Regions from separate parts of the Homo sapiens genome. Here regions 2, 3, 4, 5, 6 and 7 are each linked to region 1. Evidence: promoter capture Hi-C in 16 types of primary human blood cells and fetal thymus (Javierre and others, 2016). All regions are on one chromosome and are shown on one strand. The core of a region is centred on a gene start or on the middle of the fragment in contact, and the rest is flanking DNA. Distances in the headings are between cores, read along the strand shown. Region 1 holds the start of VDAC1 (voltage dependent anion channel 1). Region 2 holds the start of ZCCHC10 (zinc finger CCHC-type containing 10). Region 3 overlaps HSPA4 (heat shock protein family A (Hsp70) member 4). Region 4 holds the start of PCBD2 (pterin-4 alpha-carbinolamine dehydratase 2). Region 5 has its middle 57 kb from the start of HSPA4. Region 6 holds the start of TXNDC15 (thioredoxin domain containing 15). Region 7 holds the start of C5orf24 (chromosome 5 open reading frame 24).

Region 1 (3,197 bases), core at 521-3,020:
AGCACAGGGCCTCAGTGCCTCAGTCTGACCCTTAGGAGCTGAGTTGGTCCAGAGCTGGGGTGGGCAGAATGAAGGCTGGCCCTCGGTAGTCTGCTCTGGCCTTCTCCTGCCTCAGTGGAGAAGTTTAGGCAACAGAGGAGCCCTTTCCCCTATCTCCCCAGGAGAGGGGAGGCTAGTCAAGGGGACAGGGACCCCGGGCGGAACGGGCTCTAAACCAGGGTCTGCTCCTGCATTCAAGATCTCCACATGCAAACTTACTGCTCCAGCTTGACAATGTCCATTTGTAAACTTACAAGATTTTTCATAAATTAAGCTGAAAGTTACTCAATACCTGGTATACAAATGCTTGTCAATAATAGTGAAAGAATGTTTAAAAACAGGAGCTACATTTATTGAACCCCTTCCACAACGCCACGTGTAGCAAAATGGTCTGCGGGGGATGGGCTGGATTCACCCAAAAAGCCCCAAGGGTGTCAGGGTTTCTACTTAGCCCTTCTCCACACCGGCACTGTTCTAAAGGTTTCATGCTAATTAATTCATTTTATTATTCCCCAAAACTCATCGAAGGAGAGGTACAATTGCTCCCGTCCTATAGATGAGAAAACGAAGGTATGGGGACTTCCCAGCTGTGTGACCTTGTACAAACCACTAAGACTGCGGGCCTCTAATCCAAAGTCAGGCTCCGAAACAGTTTCCAGAATGCACCGCCGCATTTGGCGAATGAATGAACGACCGAACCAGTAATCACTCCTAAGACCAAGAAGGCCACATCCTTCCCCGTGGGGCCTCCTTTTCCGAGGCCAAACCTTCAGCCCAGGCCCGAGCTCCGGCCTCTACCGCCTAAGTCGACTCTCGGCCGGCGCGTTCCGCTCTAGAAGGCTCTGGCACAGGCGGGCGGTGCCGGGCGCCAGCTTCTGCGGGCGTGGGCCGGCCAGGGCGCGTGGGCCTGGGGACTCGGGGCCACGGTCGTCACGTGAGCTCATCCCCGAGGCGGCAGCGTGGCCGGCACCCGCCCGCTGGCCTGGTCCGGCGAGCGTGGGCGGCGAACGGGTCCCCGCCGGATGCACGCTGGTGGGATCCAGGGCCAGAGGGCGCCGCCGGGGAAGGTCACCTAGACGCGCGGCCCGCCGGGCCTCCACGCGGCCGCCCTTGCACTTCCGCCCGCAAGCCCGGGCCGCCTCTCGCCGCCAGCCGCAGGCGTCTCTGGACCCTCGGCCTCGCGCTCCCCAGCCCAGACCTGTTCGGCACCCGCCTGTGCGGCCTTCTCTGCCCGCCCGCTCACCAGCCAGGCCCGCGCCGGCCGCTCGCGATCCCTCCCCGCGGCCGGGCTGCCGGGGCCCCTCGCCCGCTCCTCCCTCAGCGCCTCCCTCTCAGCTCCCCAGGGGCCTGGCCCCCGCCGTCCAGGGCGCAAGGAAGCCGGGGTCCTTTTCCGCTGCGCCTACCTCAGAGGATGTGGCGGCGGGCTCGGAGGCGGCTACGGCGGGGGCTGCGACGCGGAGGCAGGGAGCCGAGCCAGGGAGCGGAGCCGAGCGAGCGGCTGGGCCAAGGGCGGGGCGGCGCGGACGGCGGCGGCGCGGACCCGCCTCCCCTCCTGCGCGCCCGGCCCGGCGCGCTCCGCCCCCAGGCCCCGCCCGGGACAGCGTCCAGGCCGGGCCAGGGTCCCCATCCCGCTAGCGAGCCGCGTTCTTACCCTTCCGGGCCCCGCTGCCCCGGCAGCAGACACAGGAGCCTGCGGGCGTGTTGCGGGCGCGCGGGAGGACCTGCGTGAGTCGGGGCACGGGGAGGCGCCGGACTGACGTGTGCACCGTGTGTGCGTGCGCAGGGACACGCGGGTTCTTGCTGGAAACCTCGGCCCCAGTGGCAGCGCTCGGGAAGGGGGAGGAGGCCTTCCGATTCTCTGAGCTGTGGCCCGGAGGTCCCTGCGCTAATGGAAGACGCGCGGGGCTCCTGGGCCTCCTGCTTGGCCTCCGCGCTGCTAGATCCCCCGGGAGTTGATGTGGCCGGCGCTGGACCCAAGCCTCGCCTGGGTGGACAAAGTGGCCCCCGGCCCCCCATCAAAGCCCGCGTGGGCCCCATCCCCCGAGGGCAGTCCCAGGCCCAGCGCGGACACTGGGCGCCTGGGGCGGCGCAGATACAGAGTAGAGGCGGCGACTGTTGCTCCCGAGCTCCGCGCTCCGGATACAATGTGTCTGGCGCCTCCGACCCGCCCGCGCGGCGTCTAGACAATCTCAGAGAAAACCCCTGTGCGCCGATTTTGCACTACAGATTAGCGATTTTCTCCTGTAGCAAAGCTACTAGCAGCCAATTTCCATGCATTTGAGAGGCAAAAAGACAAAATAAAACAAAACGTGGATTGGGTTTTGCGAGGTCCCTGCTGGGTCTCTCGGCGCGAGGAGATCACGCCGGTTATGGCCGGCCGGCCGACTGAGGGCACCCCGGGTAACCCCCGCGACCAGCCGGGGCGTGTCCTGCGGGACCCAGTTAGTGTGTGTTGAGTGAACGGTCACCTCGCTGCTAGGCCTAAGCGAGTGGTCTCGTTCACCACTGAGTGTCCCCTGTGTTACGCGCGAGGCCCACTCGAAGCAGGTTTCGAGAATTAATTCGTAGATGGACGAAGATTCTACACATCCTTCGCCTTTGATCAACAAACGTCCTGGAAGGCTTGAGGCGTCTAGGGCCCTGTGGAGGAGGTGCCGGGTTACAGAATCAGGACACTCCTCACAGCCAGCTGCGACACTATCTAAAGCAGTGGGCAACTGGGGCTACGGAGGAGGCAATCAGGACTGGCTGCTGGGAAAAGGCGGCAGATTAAAAGTGGCGACTGGAGTTGGAAAAGGTGCTCCAGTGGGATAGGGTGCTGAGGAAGAGGGCAGCTGATACAGAGTGGGAGTGGGGTGCAGACAGGTTACCTAGGCCCTGTGTAGGGGCTGGGGGAGGGGTGACTGGGAATGTAAGGAAGAGCCCCCTTCAAGATCCTGAGGAGTGTAGGACGGATTCTATGACCCTCCCAGGCGCACGAGTTGCCTGGGAACTCTGGGCTTCCCAGCCTGGTGGTCCCCACCCCGCACACTGAGACTGGTGGGCAGGGGGAGGACAAGAACTCAGGGAGGCCGGGCGGGACAAGGCGGGGCTCCAGGAACCCCACAGGGCTAGGAACAGATGCCGGTGCAACCCAGTTTTGAGGCTGGGAGCAAATG
Region 2 (3,197 bases), core at 478-2,977, 980 kb before region 1:
GAACCAGGGAGGCAGAGGTTGCAGTGAGCCAAGATCGCACCACTGCATTCCAGCCTGGGCAACAGAGTGAGACTCCGTCTAAAAAAAAAACAAAAAAAACCTGTCTGACTTCGAGCCTTCTTCCTTCACCAAGCTTACTACTCTAACTCCCTAAGTCTGTCTGTACATTTGAGGAACTCTTCTTATCAGGCCTGAAAGGGTAGATGGAAAGGAGAAGAAAAAGGGATTATTTGAATTAAAAAATATAAAAAGATATACAGATAAACACACATACATATACTAGCAGACTCTGAGCTACATATAGACATGAAAATGGAGATGGCATGAAATATTTATGAAAAAGAGGCAGATGTCTGGATGTGCAAAGGCTGTTGGAAAAAAAAGCTTTATAAGAAAGGGGTTGCCGCGCGCGGTAGCTCACGCCTGTAATCCCAGCACTTTGGGAGGCCAAGGCGGGCGGATCTCGAGGTCAGGGGATCGAGACCATCCTGGCTAACACGGTGAAACCCCATCTCTACTAAAAATACAAAAAACCAGCCGGGCATGGTGGCGGGCGCCTGTAGTCCCAGCTACTCGGGAGGCTGAGGCAGGGGAACGGCGTGAACCCGGGGGGCGGAGCTTGCAGTGAGCCAAGATTGCACCTCTGCACTCCAGCCTGGGAGACAGAGCAAGACTCCGCCTCAAAAAAAAAAAAAAAAAAAAAAAAAAAAAAGAAAGGGGCATCTGGGGTGACCCTTGCATTATTTGTCAGCTATGAATCTCTTCTGCCACTCTCTCTTGTTCATTAGGCGTAATGGCTATCTTTCAGTTCTGTAAAAAGTAAGTTTCAGGCTCAAAGCAATTATGCCACTATCCGGATGCTCTTTCTCAAAATCCTCGTATGACTGTTCCTTTTTCATCCTTTAAATCTCTGTTCAAATTCCACCTCTTCAGAGATGCCTTTCCAGTCCAACCAACCTAAAGTGGGCCTTTCCCTCTTTCCATCACAACAGCTTACTTCCTTCAAAGCTGTTATCACCAGCTGTATTTACAATTTGTGGTTTATCGACTGTTTCCATCACTAGAATGTAAGCTCTCTGAAAGCAAGGATTTTGTCTTGAACACCTCTATTTATACCCAATGTCTGGCACAGAACGGTAGGAACTAAATAAATTAATATTTATTGAAAGAGAGAATGAGTAGCAAAAGGTGGTAAGATAGCCTGGGAAAGCAATCGGCATTGAAGGCAGGGTGTTCCTAAGGAAGGCGCTAGAATAAGGAAGTAGGAAAAGGCAGCTGGGCTGGACACTGAATAGGAAACTGAAGGTTTACGTCGGCTGGAATAAAGGTGTCGGACCGGGGCTTCAGGGCTCCCCTGTCCACGCGTGGGGTTGGCGGAGGGGCATAAATCACTGAGTGACCAACTGTGGGCGTTCCTTTCAGAGAAACCAAACGCGACAGTTGTCTTCAAACCCCGCTCTGTCCCGTGCCGCAGACTTTACGCGGCTGTCTTCCGCGAAATCGCTAACCCCCGGTCACCAGACTTATCGCCCGGGCCCGAGCCCCCCGGGAGCCAGAAGAGTGTTTGAGAAACGGACATTCTCCGCCGGTCCCAATAGGGGTCCGACACCAGCCCGTTGACGCGCGTTTCCCCGCTCCCAGCCCTCCAGTGGACCCGAACCGGATCCTTACTTACGCTTGTCTCCGGGCTATTAGCCGATGCATGGGAGTCGCCATCTTAGCGCGGTCAAAGCCGGCCGCGCAGGGTTTTGGGAAACTCCTCGGAAGGGCGGGGCTTCCAACCGGGAGGCCGTAGACGTAGGCGGGGCCAGACAGGCTTCTAAGGGGAGGTATCTTAGTGCCGGCTGGTGGGTCGGGAGGGGAGGGGCTGGAGGGTCGGGAGGGGAGGGGCTGGAGGGTCGGGAGGGGAGGGGCTGGAGGGGCTGGAGGGTCGGGACGGGAGGGACTGGTGGGTCGGGAGGGGCCGGTGTCTCCAGTATGGGTCTCGGGTTCTCGGGCCGAACAGGGTTTCAAAGGATGATTACAGGCAAGAACATTATCTGTGGAAAATGAGGACAACATTCTCGAACGAGGGATACACATACAAAGACAAAGAATGAAACTTTGGTGTTCAGAAAACTAGAAGTAGTCTGGAGAATAGAAAGGAATTAGTTGACCAGGATTGAGACCATCAATTGAAAGAATGACTTTAGCAAGCCATGGAGTGCAAACATATACGTTATTTCTGTTTTTTATGTATTTCACAGCGTTGTTACGAGTACTAAATGGGACTGTATAACTAAAGCTGCTTTATCAAGCAGAAAAGGACTATACAAATATTTTAGAATATTTTAGCTGCACCTACATCTAATGTCAGCTCACGGAGCTATTATTCTCTTAAAACCCACGTTCTCTGAAATATATATAATTTTCTGAAGTGTGTGTGTGTTTCTGGGTCATCCATATTTTTTCCTTTTTTTTTTAATTTGAGACAGAGTCTCGCTGTGTCGCCAGGCTGGAGTGCAGTGGCGCGATCTCGGCTCAGTGCAACCTCTGGGTCCCTGGTTCAAGAGATTCTCTTGTCTCACACTCCCGAATAGCTGGGATGACAAGCACGCGCCACCATGCCCAGCTAATTTTTGTATTTTTACTAGAGACAGGGTTTCACCATGTTGGCCAGGATGGTCTCGATCTCCTGACCTCATAATCCGCCCGCCTCGGCCTCCTAAAGTGCTGGGATTACAGGCGTGAGCCACCGCGCCCAGCCATATTTTTTCAATTAATAATTAACACTTAAAATGTTTTAGGAGCTGAGGACAGAGCATTTGAACAAATAAAATCCGTGTACACATGGAACTTTCTACAGACAATGAATGAAGACTATTCTCATGGGCATAAGTACTCTAACGAAAAATATTTCAGAGTAAGGGATTAAAGAGTGATTAGGAGTTAGGGAAGGTGATGATGTGACCTTTGAGCACAACTTGTTCTTCAAAAAAATAGGCTCTTACATGTTGTGTTCTCCAGCTTGATTTTTTCATTCCTCAGTGTACTTATGAAAATGTTTTCCCGGCCAGGCGCAGTGGCTCACGCCTGTAATCCCAGCACTTTCGGAGGCCGAGAAGGGCGGATCACCTGAGGTTGGGAGTTCAAGGCCAGCTTGACCAACATGGAGAAACCCCATCTCTACTAAAAATACAAAAAAAATTAGCCGGGCG
Region 3 (3,197 bases), core at 366-2,865, 910 kb before region 1:
TAAAGTTAATTGACTATTAGGTCTGAGTAATATGTTGCTTTTCATTTCAGTTTACATAAATCTGTAACATTTTATCATAGTGCATGAAGGAAGTGGTCATTTATTTTAGTCAGAATAAATTTGTGTCCTTAATTAGTTTCTCACACTTGATTCTGCTGAAATCATCAGTGCCTTTTATGTGCAGATTGACGTATATTCCTTTTTTACTGACTTTATATATAAAGATTCTTGGGAACTCTTATAATCTGGAAATAATACCAATTGAAAAGAGAGAGAAACTAACACTGTACAATAATTACAAACCTAGAACACATGGGTAAAAGTGTTAGGAATATCCTGAATTTGTGTTTTTGTCTTTTTCCTCCATTCAGTGACTGTGAAGTCTTTTCCAAAAATCATGCTGCTCCTTTCTCTAAAGTTCTTACATTTTATAGAAAGGAACCTTTCACTCTTGAGGCCTACTACAGCTCTCCTCAGGATTTGCCCTATCCAGATCCTGCTATAGGTAAGTAAAGAGTTGGAAATTAAAAAAGAAAAAAAAAAAAAAGCACAGTGGCTCACAACTGTAATCCCAACACTTTGAAAGGCTAAGGTGGGAGGATCACTTGAGCTGAGGAGTTCGAGATCAGCCTGGGCAACATAGTGGGACCCTGTCTCCATTTAAACAACAACAAAAAAAAGCTTATCTACTTGGAGAGTTCGCATAGTAGAAAGAACAAGTATGGTATTCTGAAATTTAGGGGCTTTAGATTGCAAAAGAAAACCTCTTCCAGTCTCGTTAGCAGGTTTAGAACCAGCCAAATGGCTGTTATTTAATTGGATCTCCCATTGTATCGGCAGTTTTTCTTGGTTAGCGCACATTGTAATTATAACTTATGTATAAGGTGGTGCTATATACTATAAGGAGTTAACGAAATTCAGTTTGGACCCTAACATACAGTTATAAGATGTATATAGAAAATAGCCAGGTGCGGTGGCTCACGCCTGTAATCCCAGCACTTTGGGAGGCCAAGGCGGGCAGGTCAGGAGATCGAGACCATCCTGGCTAACATGGTGAAACCCCGTCTCTACTAAAAAAATACAAAAAAAAATTAGCCAGGTGTGGTGGCGGGCGCCTGTAATCCCAGCTACTTGGGAGGCTGAGGCAGGAGACTGGCGTGAACTCGGTAGGCAGAGCTTGCAGTGAGCTGAGATCACGCCACTGCACTCCAGCCTAGGCGACAGAGCGAGACTCTGTCTCAAAAAAAAAAAAAAAAAAAAAAAAAGGATGTATATAGAAAATCATTAGGAGATGGTGATACAATATCAAAACATACTAGGTTTCAGAACCGTGTTATCTAGAGTAGTTATAGACTCTGGGAAACTCTTATCTGGAAATAATACTAGTTGAGAAGAGATAGAAACTAGTTATAGTATAAAGACCTAGAATATATGGGTAAAGAAATTAGGAGTATCCTGAATGGCATTTAGAAGCTGTGGAAAGTTAACCTATTCTTTTTTCCCCATCTGTAAATCTGTAAAACCAGGAATAACAATGATAATTCATACTTTGCAGAGTTCTGGGAATGAAGAAAATGTAAATAAAAACCTTGTACAGTCACTGGACCTAGAAATGGCAATTTACTGATAAACGACAAGCAGAGTGGAATCATTTTTTTTTTCTGTTTTGTTTTTTGAGTAGAGAATGTGACAAATCTGTTTTAGGAATTAATCTGAAAGTAGCATATAAAGATAAATGGAAATAAGAAATTGGAAGAAAGGAAAGAATCGGGAGATATTTGAGTTCTTAATTGGGGCAGGATAAGATAATAAGAGACTGTGAAAGAAGAAAGAGAAATCTGATGATTTAATAAGATTCTAAAAGGACCGATTTTGCTTATTTTAAGCATCATGTTACTGAGCTATCATTGAAAGTAGACATAATCTAGCAATGTAGGCATATATTCATGCTTGAATTCATCCTCTTAGGTTATGTGTTCTTTTGTCTCTCGTATGTCCCTAGCTCAGTTTTCAGTTCAGAAAGTCACTCCTCAGTCTGATGGCTCCAGTTCAAAAGTGAAAGTCAAAGTTCGAGTAAATGTCCATGGCATTTTCAGTGTGTCCAGTGCATCTTTAGTGGAGGTTCACAAGTCTGAGGAAAATGAGGAGCCAATGGAAACAGATCAGAATGCAAAGGAGGAAGAGGTAATCTAGACATTGTATACCACTTGTGATGGCCCAGAGGTGACTTGTCTAGAAATTGTAGCAAGCAGACTTGGTGGCAAGGCCGGAGCATTGTGACAGAGCTGCTGAGTGAGAGTGGGTTTGTATGTTTGCCCTTCCCCCAATATAAGTGAACCAGCAGTAGATTTTTATGCAGAATTTGTATAGAAGTGGAACACAAGTTGATTTCTTCTTTCAGATCATACACTTCTCAACTTGAGTTATTCCTGATTCTGGTTGTTGAAGAGTGCTCTGAGTCTCAGTTAATTATTTTCAAAAGTAGAATTGATTGTACACTCATTTGTTGGAATTATGCACTGGGTCTTGTCTTCATTGTGCATCAGAATCAAAGCTTTACAAAACTACAAATTACCTATGATTCCAGCACTTTGGGAGGCTGAGGCAGGAAGATTGCTTGAGCCCAGAAGTTTGAGGCCAGCCTGGGCAACAAAGTGAGACCCTCATCTCTACAAAAAGTTAAAAACAACAACAACAACAACAAAAAAACTAGCCAGGTGTGGTGGCACACACCTGTGGTCCCACCTGCATGGGAGGCTGAGGCAGGAGGATTGCGTGAGCCTAGGAGGTCAAGGCTGCAGTGAGTCCTGTTTGCGCCACTGCACTCTAGCCTATGTGTCAGAGTGTGACCCTGCCTCAAGGAAAACAAAACTACAAATGCTTGGGTTTCATCCCCACAGATTTTACTGAAGTTGGTCTGAGCTGAGGTAGCAGTAGTTTTAAAAGCCTCTCAGGTCATTCTAATATGTTGCAGGCATTGAGAAGCCACTGGTTCAGGCTCTCCACAAACCTTCTTTCATTGTTATTTTTAGGCTTTGTAATTTTAACGTGTTCGCCTCCCCGAGCACATGCAGTGGTCATACTTTTGAGGATGAAGAGAGGCTGACTTAGGAACTATTTGAAAAAGTTGGAACTTTTGAGAGAAAATACCTTTGAGGAAGCCTGGAGAAGCTTATGCTCTCTTCAGGTTGTATTTT
Region 4 (3,197 bases), core at 322-2,821, 900 kb after region 1:
TGGACTCTTGTTCTTAAAAAAAATATTTTGCCATATCCTCTGCAAAACTGCTTATTAATTTGCATAAACTTTTTTTTTTATTTTTGAGGGGGGTGAGGGAAAGGGTATTTTGCTGTCGATGGAATGCAGTGGCGTGATTTCAGCTCACTGCAGCCTCCCGGGCTCAAGCCATCCTCCCATCTCAGCCTCACGGATAGCTGGAACTACCAGCACGTGCCACCACGCGTGGCTAATTTTTGTATTTTTAATAGAGATGGGGTTTTGCCATGTTGCCCAGGCAGATCTCGAACATCTGGCCTCAAGTGATCCTCCTGCCTTGTCCTCCCAAAGTGCTGTGATTACAGGTGCGGGCCACCATGCCTGGCCTGCTTAAACTATTCAGTTAAAAACAAACAAAAAAGAGGCCGGGCGCGGTGGCTCACGCCTGTAATCCCAGCACTTTAGGAGGCCGAGGCGGGCGGATCACGAGGTCAGGAGATTGAGGCCATCCTGGCTAACACTGTGAAACCCCGTCTCTACTAAACATACAAAAACAAAATTAGCCGGGCGTGGTGGCGGGTGACTGTAGTCCCAGCTACTCGGGAGACTAAGGCAGGAGAATGGCGTGAACCCGGGAGGCGGAGCTTGCAGTGAGCCGAGATCGCGCCACTGCACTCCAGCCTGGGCGACAGAGCGAGACTCCGTCTCAAAAAAAAAAAAAAAAAAAAAAGATACAAGTGAGTATTCTTAATAGTATGTCAATTACATCTCAAAAAAGTCAAAAAAAAAAAAAAAAAAAGAATGAAAGAATACCTCCCCAAAAATGATACAAGAAAAGATTCACCTAAATCTGTTCACAGCTGTCTGCAGAGCTCCTACTGTGTGCTGAGCCTGGGGGTAAACAGGGCACGGACACGTTTGGGAGGGGATTACAGGCCGGGTTTCCACACTTTTTGGTCCAGGCAAACCCAGACGAGCCAGCTGGCTCAAGAACTTGGCAGCTGCGTGATGACTGAACAGAGGCTGCGTTCGAACCCACTACTGCAAGACTTAGGAGCCCCCGATGGGAACTGCCGTGGTTCACTGCCCCAGCCCCGCCGCTCAACTGCCCCGCCCTGGCCTACGACATCCTCCTGCCCGCATGGACTGCGCGCAGCGCCGCCAAGCGGGGAGCCCAGCTCGGTGCTAGCGCCCGCGAAGCGGAGGAGGCCGGCGCCCGAGGCTGGGCGAAGTTCCTCCTAGCGCAGCGAGGACCGGAGGGCAAGGCCAGCGCGCGCCGGGCGACCTGCGTCCCGGGCACAGACGCGACGGGCCCGCACGGGGCGGGGACCGCGCGCGCCTGCTGGGCCTACGGCTGTGGGGCGCGCAGAGTCCACCTGGCGGCCAAGGGCGCTGGCGACCGCTGAAGCTCCTGGGGGTGTTCGGGGTCCGGGCTGCGCCTGTGCCCGCGGGAAGGCTGGGCGCTTCCCACACACAGACCCCGCTCCGGGCCAGCCCCGCAGGGAGACTACCAGGGCTGGCGGTAGCTGGGCGTGGTCGGGTCGGGGGCGGCTGTGGGCGGCCGGCAGGCAGCGCGCGGGGCAGCCCTCGGCAGACGGCCAATGGCGGCGGTGCTCGGGGCGCTCGGGGCGACGCGGCGCTTGTTGGCGGCGCTGCGAGGCCAGAGCCTAGGGCTAGCGGCCATGGTGAGTGCACAGCGGCCGCGTGGGTGGGGGTCCGGGGTCGGGGGGCGGTGCGAGGCCCGGCGGCGTCGGCTGAGGGACCAGCGGGACTGGGGCGAACCCGGCGTGGGCCGAGCCTTGGAGCTCGGGCGTCGGGTCACCGCGTCCCGGGACTGACCACCTGTCCGGTGCGCCGCTCAGAGACCGGGGTGGCCGCAGCCTCCGCCACTTGCCCTTGACTTTACACTTCCGCCGAAGCCTACGAACTTGCCAACCGGAAACAAATGGGAACGAATTTTGTTCAGCAACTACAAAAGGCAGATGTGAAAAGTAGTTGCAGAACAATTCGGTGCCCGCTGCCGCTCGTTGTGCTGAGGACGAACGGCGCTGCGGGCCTGGCTCCCTATGGCGGCTCCCTGCTCGCGCTTCACTCCAAGGGGAACCCACAGAGGTTTTGGAGGAGTTATTAATAAATTGTCTTTTTTGGTGACATATTGACTTTTCTTTCCTTTTCCAAGGGGCCGTCAGTTTTCCTGCTGTAGAAATTAATATTTTGGAGTAAATGGAGGGAAAGTTTTAACATGCAGCACCACCTAGTGGAAAAGTGGTGCGTTAAACTCACCATCTCATTTTAAGTTGCATTTTAACCGCCCATTTCAGTTTGAAATGTTTTGTTTTGTTTTGTTTTTTCGACACGGAGTCTCGCTGTATCGCCGAGCCCGGAGTGGAGTGGCGCGATCTCGGCTCACTGCAACCTCCATCTCCTGGGTTCACGCTATTCTCCTGCCTCACCCTCCCGAGTAGCTGCGATTACAGGCGCGTGCCATTTCGCCCAGGTAATTTTTTATATTTTTAGTAGAGAGGGGTTTTCGCCATGTTGGCCAGGCTAGTCTCGAACTCCTGACCTCAGGTGATCTACCTGCCTCGGCCTCCCAAAGTGCTGGGATTACAGGCGCGAGCCACTGCGCCTGGCCTGAAATTCTTTAATAGAAGAATTTTTTTTTTTTTTTTTTTTTTTTTTTGAGAAGGAGAATCACGCCGTCACCCAGGCTGGAGTGCAGTGGCGCGATCTCGGCGTATTGCAAGCTCCGCCTCCCGGGTTCACGCCATTTTCCTGCCTCAGCCTCCCGAGTAGCTGGGACAACAGGCGCCCGTCGCCACGCCCGGCTAATTTTTTTGTATTTTTAGTAGAGGCGGGGTTTCACCGTGTTAGCCAGGATGGTCTCGATCTCCTGACCTCGTCATCCACCCTCCTCGGCCTCCCAAAGTGCTGTAATAGAAGAAATTTAAAATAGCTCGAAGACGGAGGAAGATAGGCACTCCGCCGCTTCTTGTCCACGAAGGGGAGAACACAAGTTGAGTGCCTACTGTCACCTAGGCGTGTCTTCAGGCGTACTCTGCCCCAGGTGCTAGTGATCCAGTAAGATTAGGGTGTTCTGGGAAGGAATGAGTCAACAGACATGATTTGAGCGCTGCCCCATGCCAGGCTCAATGCTAGGTACCCTCACATTCAAGATCTGTAATCTAAGCCTTTCAAAAAATCTTGGCAGGTAGATA
Region 5 (3,197 bases), core at 189-2,688, 900 kb before region 1:
CACTTGAGCCCAGGTGGTCAAAGCTGCAGTGAACTGAGATTGTGCTATTGCAACTCCAGCCTGGGTGATAAAGTGATACCCTGTCTCCTTAAAAGGTGGGGGCCTGAGAGATCAGGGTTCTGTTGTGGGGCAGTGGGAGCTGCTTTGCAGGGGCACAGGGGGCCTGGGGGTTGTTGGAGGTAGTGGGACTTAGTCCACCTTTGAGGGGACAGCCAAATGAAGGGGAAAATTGCTGGTTTTGGTACCTGCAGGAAGAGGGAAGATGTAAGCATGGTTCCAGCTGAAAACCATGCTTTAGAAGTTGGGATAGTAGTTACTCTTTGTGGAGTAGTGACAACATGATGTGAGGCTTGGTGATGCTTGTTTTTTGATCTGACTTGATAGTGTACTCATGTACACTTGATCTATTTCAATAATTTTAAGTGGCTTTAACAGAAAGGTGTGTATTTTTTTTTTTTTTTTTTGAGATGGAGTCTCGCTTTGTCACCCAGGCTGCAGTGCAGTGGCGGGATCTTGGTTTACTGCAACCTCTGCCTCCCGGGTTCAAGTGATTCTTCTGCCTCAGCCTCCCGAGTAACGGACTGGAGGCGTGCGCCACCACGCACTGCTAATTTTTGTATTTTTAGTAGAGACAGGGTTTCACTGTATTGGCCAGGCTGGTCTCGAACTCCTGACCTTGTGATCTGCCCACCTTGGCCTCCCAAAGTGCCAGGATTACAGGTGTGAGCCACCATGCCTGGCCTACATTTTTACACACACAATGTAGGTTATAAAACTACATAGCCTCTCATGTTTTGAAAGAACATTAAATGGGTTTGCAATAAAAAAGCCAGAAGGATTTTCCCAGATGAAGTGGTTTTTAGGGTGGGATTGTGGGTGATTGTTTATTTTTGCTTGTTTCTGTTTTCAGAGTTTGCTACAATAAGCATTTAGGGCCAGGCATGGTGGCTCATGCCTGTAATCCCAGCCAAAGTGGGAGGATCTCTTGGGTCCAGGAGTTCAAGACCAGCCTGGGCAACATGGGGAGACAAGCCCCTACCCCCCACCGCCTCCTGTCACTAATAAAAGCATTTAGGAATTTTATAATGTTAAGAAAACTAGAAGTGTGTTTTAAGAAGAATGGCTCCAAGGTTTCAAACCTAGAATACGGGATATGATTGTACATGTGGAGCTTCTAGTCTTGAGTCATTGGAGATGTGGTGGGAGTTTAGATTGAGAAGTTTTCCTGGGTGGGGTTGAGACATCGAAGCTCCAGGTGGGTGTGGATGGAAGCTTTTGGGGCTGGAGTCGTGTTCCTCATTGACGGGATGAAGGCTTGTGTTGAGATGTGTTAGGAAGAGGAAGTAAAAGCTTTGAAAGAAGGAACTGCCAGAGAGGAGTTATGATGCATAAAGCATGTTGGGAGGAAGGGAGCTAGAGATGTGAGATGTGGCAGTGGCCAGCAGGGTTAGATGCTTCAGTAGGGTGGGAGCTGGGTGGGGTGAAGGGGCTTGAGGTGAGGCTGCAGGTGCTGAGTACTTGGTCAAGAAGCTTGGCCTCAGCCGCCCCGTCCGGGAGGGAGGTGGGGGGGTCGGCCCCCCGCCCGGCCAGCCGCCCCGTCCGGGAGGGAGGTGGGGGGGGTCAGCCCCCCCGCCCAGCCAGCTGCCCTGTCCGGGAGGTGAGGGGCGCCTCTGCCCGGCCGCCCCTACTGGGAAGTGAGGAGCCCCTCTGCCCGGCCAGCCGCCCCGTCCGGGAGGGAGGTGGGGGGGTCAGCCCCCCCGCCCAGCCAGCCGCCCTGTCCGGGAGGTGAGGGGCGCCTCTGCCCGGCCGCCCCTACTGGGAAGTGAGGAGCCCCTCTGCCCGGCCAGCCGCCCCGTCCGGGAGGGAGGTGGGGGGGTCAGCCCCCCCGCCCAGCCAGCCGCCCTGTCCGGGAGGTGAGGGGCGCCTCTGCCCGGCCGCCCCTACTGGGAAGTGAGGAGCCCCTCTGCCCGGCCACCACCCCGTCTGGGAGGTGTGCCCAACAGCTCATTGAGAACGGGCCAGGATGACAATGGCGGCTTTGTGGAATAGAAAGGCGGGAAAGGTGGGGAAAAGATTGAGAAATCGGATGGTTGCCGTGTCTGTGTAGAAAGAAGCAGACATGGGAGACTTTTCATTTTGTTCTGCACTAAGAAAAATTCCTCTGCCTTGGGATCCTGTTGATCTGTGACCTTACCCCCAACCCTGTGCTCTCTGAAACATGTGCTGTGTCCACTCAGGGTTAAATGGATTAAGGGCGGTGCAAGATGTGCTTTGTTAAACAGATGCTTGAAGGCAGCATGCTCGTTAAGAGTCATCACCAATCCCTAATCTCAAGTAATCAGGGACACAAACACTGCGGAAGGCCGCAGGGTCCTCTGCCTAGGAAAACCAGAGACCTTTGTTCACTTGTTTATCTGCTGACCTTCCCTCCACTATTGTCCCATGACCCTGCCAAATCCCCCTCTGTGAGAAACACCCAAGAATTATCAATAAAAAAATAAATTAAAAAAAAAAAAATAAAAAAAAAAAATAAAAAAAAAAAAGCAAAAAAAAAAAAAAAAAAAGAAGCTTGGCCTCTGAAATGAGGCATCAGTCTGCGAGAAAGGAGGTTGGGCAGTGTCCTGTGTGTAAATGGGGATGGTTCCCACCACTTACTTGAGACCATTGGGAATCTTGGAGTTGCCAGTACATTCCTTGGATGTACTTGGCTTTGGCTGGGGCAGCCCTGGGCCATGACCCTCTAACCTGGAATGCCACTGTTTTTGTGAACTGCTATTTTGAGCAGATATTGCAAGAAGTGTAGAAACTAAAGAGGTGACTTCTTAAGCATCAGTCTAGGAGGCAAATAGGGAAAATGGCCAAGTTGAGGTACAAGCAACACATCTGGAAAGATAAAGGAGGGTGTAAATTTCTGGAGGATCAGGGAAGGAAAGACCTCAGAGTATTTAAAAAAATACAGAATGCTTTCCAGATTTGCTCAATATCCATGGGCAAGTGCCAGGCTAATCCTGACCTTATTCCTCCAGTTTCAGCACACGTCATTAGGACAGGGTGAGTAGAGACTCTTTACTCTCCCTTCGTAAGTGGCATTCGCCAGCTTCAAACACAACACAGAAAAGACTACAGAAAGCTGTGTTTTTATCGGGCCTGTTCACTAGTGTGTCTGGGTTTACATCCTTCAAGGGCGAGATGGACTA
Region 6 (3,197 bases), core at 211-2,710, 870 kb after region 1:
GAAATGATGACTAGTAATAAGCTCTAGAACTGTGGGCTCTTTTATCCATGTCCATTGTTTCATATTCTTCTGGACCCACAAGATGGCACTTGAGGATCTACAACAGCAAAACCATACCAACGTATTTAGAATAAAAGAATCATCCACAGGGACAGATTAATGATGCATCTTTCTGGCCTAACAGTGTCTTTTTGATGGGCATAGAGATAAGGGGACTATGGCCACACCATCAGAATTGTATTATTCAATTAATAATGCCTACCACTTTGAAATGCTTCCTGTGCCCCAGGACACTGTGCTCATCACTTTACATCTCATTTCATCTATAAGACTCTATATAACGTCATTTCCACTTTACAGCTGAAGAAACTTAACTTTAAGTTACATAACCTGCTGACTGTGAACTATCACATGTGCTGAAGTTGGGATTCACCAAGCGGCCAAAAAGCACAGGTTCCCCTTACCATTGCTATGTTAACCAATAGACTGATGTATTTTAAATCAGTTTCTATTTTTTCAACCTCATAAGTTTGAAAAGCTGCACTCTGCACTGATTTAGCACTGACTGGTGGCTGCTTAAAGCTTGCCTTATTCCATTTTAGCAGGCCCCCCGGCAAAATACCCCAATTAGTGGTGTCATCCTCTCTATTCCAAGAATTTTCTCTTAAGACTCCCGCTCTGTGCGTTTGCTTGGGAATGCAGAGCCCTGTTCCTCATCTCCCCATCTATGCTTTCTTCATTCTAAGCCCTTTCCTATCTACTTTATGCTCGAGGTGGCTCCACCTCCACCATGAGCCAGAGCCAATGATGCTCACGGCCCCAACCATGATTAAAAAGAGATTGCCCTGCAAGGTAAATCAGTTAAAACCAACCTCTCCTGCCCTGAGTGGATAGGTAGGGTTAGGGTTGCCAGATGTCACGAAGTTACAGGATGCTCAGTTTTAAGGTATATCCCTTATACTATAAGGGTTATAGTAAAAAATATTCATTATGTGAAATTCAAATATAACTGGGTATCAGGTATTCTATGTGGCAACCCTAGGTAGGGGAGCACAGGTTAGGCAAGCGATTAGAAGATTTGCAGCCTCCAAAGTTTCTGCACCTCGATGGGACACTAGAACAGGAAGGCTCCTGGGCCTTTCTGGCTCTGGGAATGAAGCGTGGAAAACCCTCCTTAGGCGGGCGCAGTGCTTCAAGTAGCCAAGCTCTGACTTCCGAGGGAAGAAAGGAGGCCATGGGCCTCTGCCAGAGCCATGCTCTGCACTCTGGGGTCAGCAGAGTTCAAAACGACCTGCAACGTCTGGCGCTTAGCTCCTAAAGAGGTCTCCAGTCCAGCGCCGACGGCCAGCGGCTAGAGGCCGTCCGCCCGACTCCAAGATGGCGCCCGCCACAGCTGCCAGGTGTTAAGATGGCGGCGCGGGGCCGCGCCCGCGCTCCCAGGCTCTCCTCCCCCAGCCTTCCTCCGGCTGGCAGCACGACTCGCGTAGCCGTGCGCCGATTGCCTCTCGGCCTGGGCAATGGTCCCGGCTGCCGGTCGACGACCGCCCCGCGTCATGCGGCTCCTCGGCTGGTGGCAAGTATTGCTGTGGGTGCTGGGACTTCCCGTCCGCGGCGTGGAGGGTGAGTGTGGGCCGGGGGCGGTGCATGAGATGATGGGGCGAGCTGAGGTCCACCCGGGCGACGCTCTGGACCTGCGCGAAGGCCGGCGGTGCGCGACTCGCCCCTTCTTGGCGTCTCCCCGGGCGCGTCTCCCCGACTTCTCTCCCCGCGCACCGCCCGCTGGTGGCCCGCGAAAGGGGGCCGGTGGGCTGAGGGCCGGTGGACGGGAGCCCGGGGGTGGTTGGGCCGCGTTCAGGCCGCCCTCAGCCCGTGGCTGGTAGCCAGGAGGGACAGTGCGGTAAGCGCTGCTGAGGCATACCCTCTGGTGATAAGCAATTTATTATTAATAACATTATATCAAATACCGACATTGTTGTGGCCGTATTAGGAGCCAGGAACTGTGCATCGTGCTTTATTTACATCATTATCCCATTTAATGCTCCCACAAACCCTGTCAGATCGGTTCCGTTTAGTGTCTCCATTTCACAGATGAAGATGCTCAGGCCCCGCCTAAGTTTGCGCTTCTGATACGTGGCAGAAGCCTGTCTCTCTGACGCCAAAGCCCAGTCTGGAGTCCACGCTGCTGGACCACTGTCTTAAGGAGGCCAGTCTTGCTCAGCTCCCTGCATGAAAAACAGACGAGAAACACGGGAGACTCCCGGTAACCCCCAACTTGCCGGTAGGGAAGGCAGCCACTCTAGAGGCATGGCGAGGGTGGAGAGTGGAGGCCTTACTTTCATGCTCCTTCACCCCACTCCTCATAGTCCTGTTAAAGTCCAGACCCTCGGTCTCGCTTGTCATTTAGACCTTAACAGGAATAGGCAGGTCTTTCTTTTCCCTGGGGTGTCCTGGATGGAGGCAGGACAGCAGAGAGTTGTGGAGAAGGGTGAGTCATAGTAACACAATTACCATGAATGAAAGCGCTCACTGTGTACCAGATGCTGTGCTCAGTGCTTTACGAGCATCATCTTTTGGAATCTTTACTGTTTTGTTTTTGTTTTTTTAAGGGATGAGGGCTTGCTCTGTTGCCCAGGCGGGAGTGCAGTGGCCCATCATGGCTCCCTGCAGCCTTGAACTCCTGGGCTTAAGTGATCCTCCCACCTGTTTCCCAAAGTGCTGGGATTACAGATGTGAGCCACTGCTCCCGGTTTATGTAATTTTTATTTTTATTTTTTTTTGAGATGGAGTCTCGCTCTGTTGCCCAGGCTGGAGTGCAGTGGCGCGATCTTGGCTCACTGCAACCTCTGACTCCCGGGTTCAAGCGATTCTCGTGCCTCAGCCTCCTGAGTAGCTGGGATTACAGGTGCCTGCCACCACACTGGGCTAATTTTTGTATTTTTAGTAGAGATGATGGTCCACCATGTTGGCCACGCTGGTCTGGAACTCCTGACCTCAGGTGATCCACCCACCTCGGCCTCCCAGAGTGCTGGGATTACAGGCTTGAGCCACCGTGCCTGGCCTTAGTAATTTTTAAATGCATATGCAGTAGATGTTATCATGCTCATTTTATAGAAGTAACTTAAGACTCAGAGCCAATAAGTCCTTTGACAAGGTCATACAGCCAGAAGTTGAGGAGCCTTGATTCAAGCCCATGTCTG
Region 7 (3,197 bases), core at 329-2,828, 840 kb after region 1:
TCCGAGTAGCTGGGATTACAGGTGCGCACCACCATGCCCAACTAATTTTCGTATTTTTAGTAGAGAAGGGGTTTCACCATGTTAGTCAGGCTTGTTTCGAACTCCTGACCTCGTGATCTGCCCGCCTCGGCCTCCCAAAGTGCTGGGATTACAGGCGTGAGCCACCGCACCCAGGCTGTCCAGAGTTTTTATTGGTGTAGGTTTGATCAACTGTTCACATGGCTTATCTGTCTCCAGTCCCTCAGTAGTTTGAATGAATGGGCTTGCTTGTTTCGTGTGTTGTGTCCTGGCTTGTGTGTTTGTCCAGAAAAGTTGTTTCTCCTCCTTTCTTTCCTACTGGCAGGGCAGTACCTGGCTCAGGGCTGTGCTTATGGTAGAACTCAGTTCTATGAATTGTCCATCCTCAAATATCCTTCATTACATGGGGGAAAAGGGCAAGCATCCTCCTCTAGCCTCTTCCCACTGCTTAATAAAGTGTCTCCCTTTCAGTAGCTGCCCTAATTCTGGATCCTCTCCATTCTGACATCTGGAAATTCACAGGAGGAAGGAGTGAGGAAATGAATCCCTTCTAAGTGGGTTTGTGTGAGGTGACTGATATGTCAGATATCTCACAAGAAAAACATAATAGCGGTAGTTTGTTGTTCCATCCTTTCCTGTGATTATGGAATAATGAATGCGACAATTCCTGGGGCGTGGTGGCTTACGCCTGTAATCTGCGTGGATCATAGGATGTCCCATAAAATAAAGCTTTTCATTATCACATGATCCTGGGCATGAAGAGTCCCAACTCCCCTGACTATCATTTATTTGTCCTGTATCTAAGAAATGGGGTCAGCAGGAGTTCCAGCATCTCAGAATTGTGGTGAAAACCAATACAAGTAAGGAAGTTATTAATTCCCCATTTGGTGGGTTCCTCAACCCCAGCCACTGGGGACGGTCCACGCCGGATCACCAGCAGCTCAGGCTTAAGGCCACGACGCGCAAGCGCAGCCTGCCAGCCTGGCTCCCTCCCAAAGCTTGCGTGCAGGTTGGCGGCGGGAGATCGGGTCTCGCGATGCGAGTGAGCGTGTGCGTGCGCGGCCCTCGCGAGCTCGCGCACGCCGCCTCTAACACTACAGGGTGGTAGCGGCCTCTTCGTACTGCGTCCGGGGCAGGACCGTGCGCGGCGGCCGCGGCGGGTGCTGGGAGCCAGCGCCTGCCTCGCCGCCGCCCTCGCTGCCTGCCACTCCGTCTTGGCCCGTTCTCCGCACCGTGCAGAGGCGGCGGGCTGGGGAGGGAGCGGCGCCAGCACGAGGTTCCCAGCCGCTGGGAAGCCCCTAGACGCGCCGAGGGGCCGGGCTACGAGCGGCTGAGGTAGGTAGGGGTGCGCGGGCTGGTCAGCCGGCCGGGAGCGGGGTAGGGCGGCGGCGAGAACGGGCGCCTCGCTGACCGGGGAGAAGAGGCCTCCTGCCAAGGGGCCCTAGTGTAGCCGGAGTGAGAGGAGGGGCCCCGGACGTAGCCTGCTCTTCCCCGGTGTGGAGCCATTACGGGGGGACATTCCTCCTGCGGCGGGGGGAGGGAGCCCCCTTTCTTTTCTTTGAGAGGTCAGAATCCGCAGTCCGCCCTTCGCCTTTAAATAAAAGCCTGCCGGCTCGAGATCGGCGTCGCGATGGAGTGCCCGTGGACTTCTACGCTTGCGGAACTCCGAGTGGACGGATAGCGGCTTATGAATTTTGCTTTTTAGAGGGTACACAACCCTTTCTCTAGGGTGGCGTGCATCTTCTGCAAACTTGTTATTGCCAATACGCTAATAGTCGCTTTCAGCACACAACAGGTAATACATTCTAAACGCCTCGTGTCAAAATAAGGAGAGTCCTTATTTGTGCACCGTGGGGCACAGTTAAGGAGCAGGAAGAAGACAAAGGAGGCCGTTATTTATGTGCCGTCCTATTATCAAAACTTTCCGTGGTGGGGCAGGGTGCGTGGCTATTGGCCTCTGCTGAATGGACTTTCAGAGTGATTGAGGTGAGTTGCAAATCTTCATTTAGAATTATGAAACGTATATGATTATACATAATAGTTAGTCAAATGACCTGAAATAAATCTCTGAGAATTACGTGATCTTTGATCTTTGGAGAACAGAACTTGGGTTTCTTGAAAGGAAGCTTTCTCCATGTTTAGAAAGCTTCAGGGATGCTTTGTGAAGTTACTAAAAATAGTTACATTTCTTTATGTTGGCAGTAATGACTGCCACATTCAAGAGAAGAGAAAGGAATTGTTCTATAAAGAACGGCTCATTTTAGGGGTTAAACTTTAGGAGTTAAACACAATAAAACAACTTCAAGGATGGTAAGTTTTAGCTTATGCTTTAAGTATTCGAATTTAGTCACAGTCCAAATATATAGAAGCTCTTAGTTGACTCCTGTACATTCAGGGAACTATTTATTGGTTGTTTTTGTTTGTTTTGTTTTTTTTGAAACGGAGTCTCACTCTGTCCCCCAGGCTGGAGTACAGTGGCGCGATCGCGGCTCACTGCAACCTCTGCCTCCCGGGTTCAAGCAATTCTCCTGCCTCAGCCTCCCAAGTAGCTGGGATTATAGGCATGCGCCACCACACCCAGCTAATTTTTGTATTTTTAGTAAAGATGGTGTTTAACCATGTTGACCAGGCTGGTCTCGAACTGCTGACCTCGTGATCCACCCTTCTCAACCTCCCAAAGTGCTGGGATTACAGGCGTGAGCCACTGCACCCGGCTTCAGTAACTATTTAAAAAGATGATCTTTAACCTTTGATAGTCTACACAACCTGTTCTATAACTCTTGGCTTCTATTCAGTCCACGCTGTCTGGAAATGTAGTATTCATCCTATTTTTTTTTTTTTTTTCCTGAGATGGAGTCTGTTTCCTAGGCTGGAGTACAGTGGCACGAACTCGGCTCACTGCAACCTCCGCCTTTGGGTTCAAGCGATTCTCCTGCCTCAGCCTCTGGAGTAGCTGGAGTTACAGGCACCCGCCACCATGCCTGACTAATTTTTTGGATTTTTAGAGAGAGGGTTTCGCTGTGTTATCCAGGCCAGGCTACTCTGGAACTCCCGACCTCAACTGATCTGCCCACCTGGGCTTCCAAAATTTCTGGGATTACAGGCCTGAGCCACCGCGCCGGACCATTCTGACTCTTAAGAAATGTGGCTTGGGACCGGTCGCGGTGGCTGTGGCCTGT

What was found. The method cuts DNA at HindIII sites, captures the fragments that hold promoters and counts their contacts. A CHiCAGO score of 5 or more calls a contact.
Region 2: the fragment with the promoter of ZCCHC10 here is called in contact with the fragment with the promoter of VDAC1 in region 1 in 3 of 17 cell types (M0 macrophages, neutrophils and total CD4 T cells); the score reaches 8.9 in M0 macrophages.
Region 3: a fragment that was not itself captured here is called in contact with the fragment with the promoter of VDAC1 in region 1 in 1 of 17 cell types (naive B cells); the score reaches 5.5 in naive B cells.
Region 4: a contact is called between the fragment with the promoter of PCBD2 here and the fragment with the promoter of VDAC1 in region 1, in 3 of 17 cell types (fetal thymus, monocytes and activated CD4 T cells). The highest score is 7.8, in fetal thymus.
Region 5: a contact is called between a fragment that was not itself captured here and the fragment with the promoter of VDAC1 in region 1, in 2 of 17 cell types (naive B cells and total B cells). The highest score is 13.3, in naive B cells.
Region 6: a contact is called between the fragment with the promoter of TXNDC15 here and the fragment with the promoter of VDAC1 in region 1, in 4 of 17 cell types (non-activated CD4 T cells, activated CD4 T cells, total CD8 T cells and 1 more). The highest score is 7.4, in non-activated CD4 T cells.
Region 7: a fragment that was not itself captured here is called in contact with the fragment with the promoter of VDAC1 in region 1 in 1 of 17 cell types (non-activated CD4 T cells); the score reaches 5.8 in non-activated CD4 T cells.

The regions. Positions count from the first base shown.
Region 1 is chr5:134,003,205-134,006,401 of GRCh38, forward strand. VDAC1 (voltage dependent anion channel 1) reads right to left here and starts at 1,771. Exons shown (of 9, transcript NM_003374.3): 1 at 1,691-1,771. RefSeq lists enhancers at 495-544, 555-604, 2,255-2,374, 2,445-2,504, 2,545-2,614 and silencers at 835-1,874, 1,935-1,994, 2,035-2,084. The HindIII fragment of the contact is 5,979 bases long and covers 1-3,197 here.
Region 2 is chr5:133,024,822-133,028,018 of GRCh38, forward strand. It overlaps ZCCHC10 (zinc finger CCHC-type containing 10), which reads right to left and starts at 1,728. Exons shown (of 5, transcript NM_001300816.3): 1 at 1,676-1,728. The coding sequence starts at 1,716. RefSeq lists an enhancer at 1,488-1,797 and a silencer at 1,878-2,007. The HindIII fragment of the contact is 6,187 bases long and covers 383-3,197 here.
Region 3 is chr5:133,089,191-133,092,387 of GRCh38, forward strand. HSPA4 (heat shock protein family A (Hsp70) member 4) reads left to right here. Exons shown (of 19, transcript NM_002154.4): 11 at 372-505; 12 at 2,003-2,184. Among named protein-coding and RNA genes, the nearest start is that of HSPA4, 39 kb to the left of the region's middle. The HindIII fragment of the contact is 1,873 bases long and covers 680-2,552 here.
Region 4 is chr5:134,903,560-134,906,756 of GRCh38, forward strand. It overlaps PCBD2 (pterin-4 alpha-carbinolamine dehydratase 2), which reads left to right and starts at 1,572. Exons shown (of 4, transcript NM_032151.5): 1 at 1,572-1,664. The coding sequence starts at 1,581. RefSeq lists a silencer at 1,128-1,887 and enhancers at 1,485-2,069, 2,070-2,655. The HindIII fragment of the contact is 31,150 bases long and covers 1-3,197 here.
Region 5 is chr5:133,107,281-133,110,477 of GRCh38, forward strand. No RefSeq gene overlaps it. Among named protein-coding and RNA genes, the nearest start is that of HSPA4, 57 kb to the left of the region's middle. RefSeq lists an enhancer at 1,237-1,286. The HindIII fragment of the contact is 180 bases long and covers 1,349-1,528 here.
Region 6 is chr5:134,872,911-134,876,107 of GRCh38, forward strand. It overlaps TXNDC15 (thioredoxin domain containing 15), which reads left to right and starts at 1,461. Exons shown (of 5, transcript NM_024715.4): 1 at 1,461-1,620. The coding sequence starts at 1,518. It overlaps LOC124901071 (a long non-coding RNA gene), which reads right to left and starts at 2,488. Exons shown (of 2, transcript XR_007058943.1): 1 at 2,334-2,488; 2 at 1,921-2,222. RefSeq lists enhancers at 1,137-1,186, 1,207-1,496, 1,428-2,133, 2,027-2,096 and a silencer at 1,737-1,846. The HindIII fragment of the contact is 3,704 bases long and covers 581-3,197 here.
Region 7 is chr5:134,844,860-134,848,056 of GRCh38, forward strand. It overlaps C5orf24 (chromosome 5 open reading frame 24), which reads left to right and starts at 1,109. Exons shown (of 2, transcript NM_001135586.1): 1 at 1,109-1,353. RefSeq lists an enhancer at 820-1,555 and silencers at 1,075-1,454, 1,485-1,534. The HindIII fragment of the contact is 1,128 bases long and covers 1,015-2,142 here.